Regions from separate parts of the Homo sapiens genome. Here all the other regions are linked to region 3. Evidence: promoter capture Hi-C in human tissues and cell types (Jung and others, 2019). All regions are on one chromosome and are shown on one strand. Each heading gives the region's core, a stretch centred on a gene start or on the middle of the fragment in contact. The rest is flanking DNA. Distances are from core to core; before and after follow the strand shown. Region 1 overlaps ZNF660-ZNF197 (ZNF660-ZNF197 readthrough). Region 2 has its middle 3.9 kb from the start of ZKSCAN7-AS1. Region 3 holds the start of ZNF445 (zinc finger protein 445).

Region 1 (3,079 bases), core at 568-3,067, 160 kb after region 3:
CCTGAGTAGCTGGAATTACAGGTGTGCACCACCATGCCCAGCTAATTTTTGTATTTTTGGTAGAGACAGGGTTTCACCATGTTGGCCAGGCTGGTCTCAAAGTCCTGACCTCAAGTGATCCGCCCTCCTCAGCCTCCCAGAGTGCTGGAATTACAGGCATGAGCCACCATGCCCGGCCTCTCCTTATGTTTGAAACCTCACTGTGAATAAGGAAACTGAAGTACCAGCATTAGATAGGCTTAAGACACATACCCATCCCTGCAGCCAGGTGGTTGGGTAGTGTGACTGGCAGTCCTGCCTGAGTCCTAGAGAGAAGGGCAGTTGAGATGAGATATGAGGGCCTGACCTAAGAATGTCTGTAGTTCAAGTTAATATTTGTTGGATATTTGCCATCCTCATCCTTTCATAAACTTAAAGAAATGTATAATGAAATAAAATGGCTGCACTCTTGTCTTCTCTCTCTGTTTAGATAGAAGAAAAGTATTGTTATATTCAAAGAGAAGATGATGTTACTGCTATTCACATAACTTTACTTATTAGACAGTTTGGGGGAACTGGCTCATAATTTCTCTCACACTTGGGTAGTTTGAAAGTAAACTTCCAAAACATTTTCATACTGTTCATACTTTAAAATATTTGAGAATATTGGAGTAGATAGGAACCTTGGATATTAGTTTAGCCTCATCATTTTACAGATGTTTTCATACTTTTATTCTATTTTCCCTTTTCTTTTCTGTATTTCTTCTCTTACCTTTTATGTGTAATTAAGGGAGTTCATAACAGACCTGACTATTTAAAATGAATTTTAAAATTTCCATTTCTTAATTTTAAACGGAGTAGGAGTTATATGAATTCTAAGAATTAAGTTGCTTTTCAATGGATTTCTTTTCTGTTGGTTAATTGCTTTCAACCAGTTAAAAAGTATTCATGCCTTTGACTTTTCAAAAATTAAAAATTGCCTTTCAGAGTCCTTACATATATTTTCCTTCCCTTAAAGTTTCCATCCTTCTAACATGAAGAAAATAATAAAGAAAGTTACTTCTAATCCAATGGTTCTTGCTCTTCTATCCAAGTTCCTTAGATGTGAACCACCTCCATAAGATCCTGTGTTTTCTCTCTGGTTTTCCTTGCTTCTGTTTTCTCAGCATTATTTGTATTTTTCTATCTGCTTCCTGAAGACAAAGCACTTAAAAATGTCTCAACCTGAGTTGTATGTTAATCCATTTACAACATCTTGTCAGTGTAGCATTATTCTTTGTACCTTCCTTTAATGAAAAGTTTCTCCTTTTTGTATGCATATTAAAGTGTGCCTTCCTAGAATGTTTTAAAGTCATTTGAAGATCCTGTTCTTCCAAACACAGGGACGTGGTAACATTTGCATTTTTAATTCCTTTTACCAGAATGGGAGACCATGACCGAGAATGAGGAGGTGACATCAAAGCCAAGTAGTTCTCAAAGAGCAGACTCTCATAAAGGAACATCAAAAAGACTTCAAGGAAGTGTTCCCCAGGTCCTTGATTTTGAAGAAGAGTGTGAATGGCAAGTTTTGGCAAGTCAGTGGGGAAATGAAACAGATGAAAGGGCAGATACAGTGAAGAAAGTTTCCCTTTGTGAACGAGACAAGAAGAAAAGGACTCCACCAGAGAAACAAGGCCAAAAGTGGAAGGAATTAGGAGACAGCTTGACTTTCGGTTCAGCTATTTCTGAAAGTTTAATAGGTACTGAAGGAAAGAAGTTTTATAAATGTGATATGTGTTGTAAACATTTTAATAAAATCTCCCATCTTATAAACCATCGGAGAATCCACACTGGTGAGAAACCTCATAAATGTAAGGAATGTGGAAAAGGCTTTATTCAGCGTTCGAGCCTTCTAATGCATTTACGGAACCATTCAGGGGAGAAACCTTATAAATGTAATGAATGTGGGAAAGCATTTTCTCAAAGTGCTTACCTTCTAAACCATCAGAGGATCCACACTGGGGAGAAACCTTATAAGTGTAAGGAGTGTGGAAAGGGCTTCTATAGGCACTCAGGCCTAATTATACATCTAAGGCGCCATTCAGGGGAGAGACCTTATAAGTGTAATGAATGTGGGAAAGTCTTCTCTCAGAATGCTTACCTCATTGACCATCAGAGGCTCCACAAAGGGGAAGAACCTTATAAATGTAATAAGTGTCAGAAAGCTTTCATTCTGAAGAAGAGCCTCATTCTGCACCAGAGAATCCACTCTGGGGAAAAACCCTATAAATGTGATGAATGTGGAAAGACCTTTGCTCAGACCACTTATCTTATTGACCATCAGCGACTCCACAGTGCAGAGAACCCTTACAAGTGTAAAGAATGTGGAAAAGTTTTCATTCGAAGCAAAAGCCTCCTCTTACATCAGAGAGTCCACACAGAAAAGAAAACCTTTGGTTGTAAAAAGTGTGGGAAGATTTTCAGTTCTAAGTCAAACTTCATTGACCATAAGAGGATGCACAGCAGAGAGAAACCTTACAAATGCACTGAATGTGGGAAAGCCTTTACTCAAAGTGCTTACCTTTTTGACCACCAGAGACTCCACAATGGGGAGAAGCCCTATGAATGTAATGAATGTGGGAAAGTTTTTATTCTGAAGAAGAGCCTCATTTTACATCAAAGGTTCCACACTGGAGAGAATCTCTATGAATGTAAAGATTGTGGTAAGGTCTTCGGTTCAAACAGAAACCTCATTGACCATGAGAGACTCCACAATGGGGAGAAGCCATATGAATGTCGAGAGTGTGGGAAAACCTTTATTATGAGCAAAAGTTTTATGGTCCATCAGAAACTCCATACACAAGAGAAAGCCTACAAATGTGAGGATTGTGGGAAGGCTTTCAGTTACAATTCAAGCCTGCTTGTACATCGGAGAATCCACACCGGAGAAAAACCCTTTGAATGCAGTGAGTGTGGAAGAGCTTTCAGTTCAAACAGAAACCTCATTGAGCATAAGAGAATCCACAGTGGTGAGAAACCCTATGAGTGTGATGAGTGTGGCAAATGCTTCATTCTGAAGAAAAGCCTCATTGGACATCAGAGAATTCACACGAGGGAAAAA
Region 2 (2,901 bases), core at 95-2,594, 210 kb after region 3:
GAGTTTCTAATTTTATGGGTGTTTCTTTAATTATGGGGTGGAATAATCATTCAGTATTTTGGAAAAGAAAGGGATTTCAGAGACTCCTCCCAGCCCCCTATTCCCCCCATTACCACCCCCTTTCTCCCTTATTTGGGTTTGCCAAGAAGAGTCATGGACATGTCAGCCTGACCAGGGTTTTGGCCATTTTCTCTCCCTTATTTTGAGTTTTCTGTTATCCTGTGGTTTCTTTGCCTAGTTCTTATTTTAACTGTTGTTCAGGTTTTTCCATACTCCTGTGACTACCCAGTGCTACTCCTGTCTCACAGGTCCAGGAGAAGATGGGTGTCCCAGCTCCAGGAGAGAGAGAGTGAATTCACCTCTCTCTTTTTGTTCTACCTGGGCTCTCAGCCCTTTGGATGGTGCCCACCCATGTTGTGTGAGGGCACATTTTCCTTACTCAGAACACAGATTCAAATGCCAATCTCTTCCAGGAACACTCTCACAGACATACATCCAAAATAGTGCTTTACCAGTTATCTGGGTATTCCTTAACCCAGTCAAGTTGACACCTAAAATTAACCATCACATGTTCTTATAATAAGGAGGGGTTGTTCTACATCTCATTACTGGCTCAGGCCGAAGATAGGTCAAAACTTAAGGACCTAGGGGAGGGAGAGGAGCTTAACTAAAGCTTGGTCAAGTTAAATTAGCAGGTATGCTGTCCAAATTGGTCATGGGTACAAACAGTTCAGTTAATCACTTGTAAAGCAAATCATCTGGAGGGTCTGTGTCTAGACAAACAAGGGGGTGGGGCTATCTGTGAGTCTCATCTAAGTCATATGGGGAAGGATGGCTCTTTGCAGGAAGTCATTTCCTAGAACACTAAAGGGTGTGGGGATTTTTAATTGTCACTGTTTTCCAGGAGAGCAGACTCAGGTAAAGTTTAACATTTTCAGACTCTTGGGGAAAATTAGGTTATCTATTCTTCGTTGGCTGAGATAGGATTCATGAAACACTATCATAAAATATGGCACCTTGCCATTTGAGAAAACAGCAGAAGCAAGATGGTCTCTCTGACCTTCTCCCATGATTCTCCCCTGAAGCAGGCCATAAAACATTCCCTTGGCGGGTGCAGTGGCTCACACCTGTAATCCCAGCACTTCGGAAGGCCGAGGCAGGTGAATCACGAGGTCAGGAGTTCGAGACCAGCCTGGCCAATATGGTGAAACCCTGTCTCTACTAAAAATACAAAAAAAAAATGAGCTGGGTATGGTGGTGCGCGCCTGTAGTCCTGCTACTTGGGAGGCTGAGGCAGAAGAATCTTGAACCTGGGAGGCAGAGGTTGCAGTGAGCCAAGATCACACCACTGCACTCCAGCCTGGGCAACAGAGTGAGACTCTGTCTCAAAAAGAAACAAACAAACAAACAAAAAACCAAAAAAAAAACCTTCCCTTAAAAGGCTGGGCATGGTGGCTTTCTCACACCTGTAATCCCAGCATGATGGGAGGCCAAGGTGGATGGATCACCTGAGGTCAGGAGTTTGAGACCAGACTGGCCAACATGGCAAAACCCTGTCTCTACTAAGAATACAAAAATTAGCCAGATGTGGTGGCGTGCACCTGTAATCCCAGCTACTCAGGAGGCTGAGGCCGAGAATCTCCTGAACCCAGGAGGCGGAGGTTACAGTGAGCCAAGATCATACCATTGCACTCTAGCCTGGGCAATAAGAGTGAAACTCTATCTTGAAAATAGTAATAATAATAATAATATCCTTTCTTGCAAAATATAGTAATTAAAAAATTAATCCTACATCACAAACCCTTGTAGCAGACAGAGCACATCTCCCCATATATATGATCATTGCACCTAGGGTGGACACTTTCTTCCTCTTACTTTCAGGGACACCCTACTTTGTCTATGGTGTAGCTGTACTTTCACTACTTTCACACCAGCTCACCAGCAATGGATCCAAACCAAGACAAAATCTGTGAATTGCCAGAAAAAGAATTCAGACAGTCAACTATTAAGCCAACCAAGCAGGCATCAGAGAAAGATGAGGTCCAACTTAAAAAAAATTTTTTAAATGATACAGTATATGAAGGGGAAACTCTCCAGTGAAATAGGTAGCATAAATAAAAATTACAACTTCTGGAAATCAAGGACACATTTAGAGAATTGGAAATGCACTGGAAAGTCTCAGCAATAGACTCAAACAAGAAGGAAAAGAATATCAGAGCTCAAAGACAAGCCTTTCAAATTAACCCAGTTCATCAAAGACCAAGAAAAGAGAATTTTAAAAAATGAACAAAACTTCTAAGAAATTTGGGATTATGTAAAATGACCAAACCTATGAATAATTGTTGTTCCCAAGGAAGACAAGAAATCTAAAATCTTGGAAAACATATTAGAGGTAATAATTGAGAAAAACTTCCCTGGTCTTGCTAGAGATCTAGACATCCAAATACAAGAAGCTCAAAGAACACCTGGGAAATTCATTGCAAAAAGATCATTGCCTAGGCACACACTCATCAGGTTATCTAAAGTCAAGACTAAGGAAAGAATCTTAAGAGCTGTGAGACAAAAACATCAGGAACCTATAAAGGAAACCCTATCAGATTAACAGCAGATTTCTGAGCAGAAACCCTACAAGCTATAAGGGATTGGGGTTCTATGTTTAGCCTCCTAAACAAAACAATTATCAGGCAAGAATTTTGTATACAGTGAAACTTAGCTTCCTAAATGAAGGAAAGATACAATCTTTTTCAGACAAACAAACGCTGAGAGAATTCATCACTACCAAGCCAGCACTATAAAAACTGCTAAAAGGAGCTCCAAATCTTGAAACAAATCCTTGAAATACACCAAAATAGGGTCCCCTGAAAGCATAAATCTCACAGTACTTATAAAACAACAACATGA
Region 3 (3,066 bases), core at 282-2,781:
GTTTCTAATACAAAATCTTGAAAATTGCAAAATACAGTGTTATGTTTTACTATAGTTTACTCTCTGACATCGTAGACTGCTTATGCACTAATTCTTCCTGGATACCGGAAGCCAGAGAAAACCTAGCGGTGGAATACTTGCCATTTTTCATGCTTTTTGTCAGTTTCCTTTTTAAGTGCATACTGAGGTTTATCTTCAAAACATTCTCATCTTTTCGGCTTACAGTAAGACTTTTTTTTTTTTCTAACCAAAATGTGTCTGCCTTTCATTAAGATAACATAAAAGAGCAGCCTAATTCTTTGGTCCCTGAATATGCACACACATGCATGCACACACACACACGCAGACACACACACAACACATGGAGGCTCTCTGAAACTGCTTAATCAAATTACTGCTCAAACCACTCCCTGGCACTTCCTTGCAAAACAACCAACCTAATACTGAGTTTTTAGTTTTGCACTACAAGCCGTTTGAAACAGAATAACATTCTTTCCTGGCCACCACTTTTAAATTCGGAAGGAGACAATACTCTGATCTCTTAGGCCTGTGCAAGTCAGAGTGTGCTACAATCGCTGCAGGTTAGAGCTCTGCCTTTGTTTAAAAACTGCATTTTATATACTAGTTACTTCATTGTGAAAGATAACCACCCTGACAAACAAGATTTTGCTATTTTTCTGCACAAATGTCACTTCACCATTTAGAGCTTCATGCAAATGTGTCTCCTACAGAAAATAAACTGCAAACACGATTTCTTAATTATCCTCGCCAAAAAAAAAATGTTTTAGTGGTGTCATAATGCCAGCACTAATTTTAGCCAAAATAAGAACAAATGCATTCTACAAATTCAGGAGATTATAATTTTTAAAAAGCAGTAGTATGGATATACTTAATGTCACTGAATTACACACTTCCAAATGGTTAAATGGTAAACGTTTATGTATTGTATGGTAAATGTTATGTGTTATTTTGGCACAATATTGTTTCCTCACAATAATACTAACAGGTTTTTTAAAAAGCAAGAGCACGCTCTCATTTCGTAATATATATTTATGGATGTCAGTGTGCAGAATTATGCACAGATATTTTAAATGTCAGGAGGCCTGGAGACAGATTTCAGGATTGCGGCTACTTTTACTTTTCTTCTACTTTCCCGTGTTATCTAATTGTCTCTGATAAATACGCTTTATATGCAGAATTGGATGAAACGAGAAAGCCCGGAGAAACCCGGGCTCCAGATTCTCTACCCCGGACGCCTGGGAGGCAAAGAGGTTCTAGATACGCCCTCAGCGTGGCGGGGGCGGGATCCACCGCCAGACCCCCGCCACGGGCGCAGCCTCCAGGCCGGGCCCCGTCCGCCGCCCGGGCAGGCCCGAGAATGCCGCGGACTTCGGGGAGCCCCGCGCCCGCAATGCCGCCACCCCCACCCCCGCGCCCCGCCAGGCCTCTCACCGACTCCCGCCGCCGAGCGACAATCGGTCCACCCGCCGCCACCGCAGCCGCCCGTCCCGCGCCTACCTCCCGGCGGCTCCAGTCGCGCACGCGCGTCGGCGCCCGGGGCCCTCCGCGGCCTCTCTAGGAAACTGGGAGGCCCAACGTCTCTGCTTCTCTCCGGCTCCGGTGCGGCGGGCGGCGGGGCTTGTCCAACATCCCTCACCTCCCTCAGTTGGACATTTCCCTTCCACGCTCGGATGCCCAGCCGCGCCTGTTTTCTTGCATCCCTCCTGTCGTGTCTGCGGGGCTGCCCTGAAGGCCTCTTTCCCTCCAGGGAAGAAAGGGATCCAAAGCTAGGGGTGAAAATAGGGCCAGCAGTATCTAGCAGACTGGTCCTGGCCAGGAGAAGGGGTTAAGGGAGCCACTCATTCTTCGCCTGGGTACACTTCAAAGAGGGGAACCAGATCCTACGGGAAGCTAGGTGCCAGAACTCCTGCCTTTCCAAGACGAGCTCATCCCCATCATCACCATACCCAGGAATACTTGTTCATAGCCAGCTCAGAGGTGCACCATACTTTAGCTTCCCACGGCCTTCACTCGTTTTCTCCTGTGGGTGAATTCTAACTAGGCTCGCCTGGTGAGTGAACAATGATGCCATTGCCCAATAATATGTGGAATCTGGGAGGAGTAGGTTGGGGGTAGGGGGTGGAGGGGCTGCTTGAAGAGGAGGTGAAGCAACCTGGAGAGGTTGCCCACCCCCTGTAGGAGCAAATGTCATCTATTGCCAGTGCCAGAGAACCTTGAGGGTGCACAGCCAAAGCCATAAGGCCATCTGCTGCCATTGGAGGGCATGCTACAAGCTGCTGTCCTGGTAGTCCTCTGGTTTGTGCTTCCTAGTGGCAGGCTGCAACATGTTGACGATTGATCTTTCAGATGGGCATTGATGATGCCCATCTGTGCCCTGAGGCTTTGCTTTACTCATCTGATCCACCCCTTTTTAATGCCCCAGTCACCAAAGATGGAAACAGAGAATAGATCCTGAACACCAGGAAGATGGTGACAAGGTGATAGAGAAACAGATGGCACATTCAAACAAGGTAAGTGGGGAGAGTTCACAAGGGGCGATTTACACAAAGTGGACAGGGTTAAGGAAATGCAACACGGAGTGGTGCAGAATCCCATGGCTAGCAAAATTTAGAAGCTATTCTCACCCCTAGGAGCAGGCCATCTGAGAGAAACTGTGGCTTTCAGTTGAGGGCTACATCCAAGCCATAGTCCAGCACAAAGGAAGCTGAGGTAATAAATAACCTGAACCCAGCTCTCTTCTGATCTCCTGCCAGGGCTTCCCATTGGCCCAACTCAACTGGAAGCCAGAGGGCAATCCAGGAAACTCAGTCTCCCAAGTGTCACAGCAGGGTTGAGGACTGAGACTGAATATGGAGGGGCAATTGGAAAATATCCAACACATACAAAAAGGAAAATAGAAACTGCTTGTCAATGCCTAATTTGTCCATTAATTTCCACTCGATATAATGTTCTTGAGTGACTCAGAACCACCCATAGTGGTGAGAAGAGTTTTCAAGTTTTGTTTGAGAACAAAATTTTCCCATCGTAGAAGAGTTTGAGCAGGTT

The links. Contacts are between HindIII fragments. The study calls those that stand out against the background at their distance.
Region 1: a fragment that was not itself captured here is called in contact with the fragment with the promoter of ZNF445 in region 3 in 1 of the 25 tissues and cell types used here (aorta).
Region 2: a fragment that was not itself captured here is called in contact with the fragment with the promoter of ZNF445 in region 3 in 1 of the 25 tissues and cell types used here (IMR-90 fibroblasts).

The regions. Positions count from the first base shown.
Region 1 is chr3:44,640,500-44,643,578 of GRCh38, forward strand. It overlaps ZNF660-ZNF197 (ZNF660-ZNF197 readthrough), which reads left to right. Exons shown (of 8, transcript NR_147692.2): 8 at 1,401-3,079. ZNF197 (zinc finger protein 197) reads left to right here. Exons shown (of 6, transcript NM_006991.5): 6 at 1,401-3,079. All of the region lies in intron 2 of ZKSCAN7-AS1 (ZKSCAN7 ZNF cluster antisense RNA 1), which reads right to left. Among named protein-coding and RNA genes, the nearest start is that of ZNF35, 6.7 kb to the right of the region's middle. The HindIII fragment of the contact is 6,969 bases long and covers 1-3,079 here.
Region 2 is chr3:44,688,133-44,691,033 of GRCh38, forward strand. No RefSeq gene overlaps it. Among named protein-coding and RNA genes, the nearest start is that of ZKSCAN7-AS1, 3.9 kb to the left of the region's middle. The HindIII fragment of the contact is 6,943 bases long and covers 1-2,901 here.
Region 3 is chr3:44,476,139-44,479,204 of GRCh38, forward strand. ZNF445 (zinc finger protein 445) reads right to left here and starts at 1,532. Exons shown (of 8, transcript NM_181489.6): 1 at 1,453-1,532. LOC101928529 (a long non-coding RNA gene) reads left to right here and starts at 1,552. Exons shown (of 4, transcript XR_940785.4): 1 at 1,552-2,071; 2 at 2,444-2,531. RefSeq lists silencers at 1,280-1,329, 1,350-1,509. The HindIII fragment of the contact is 14,864 bases long and covers 1-3,066 here.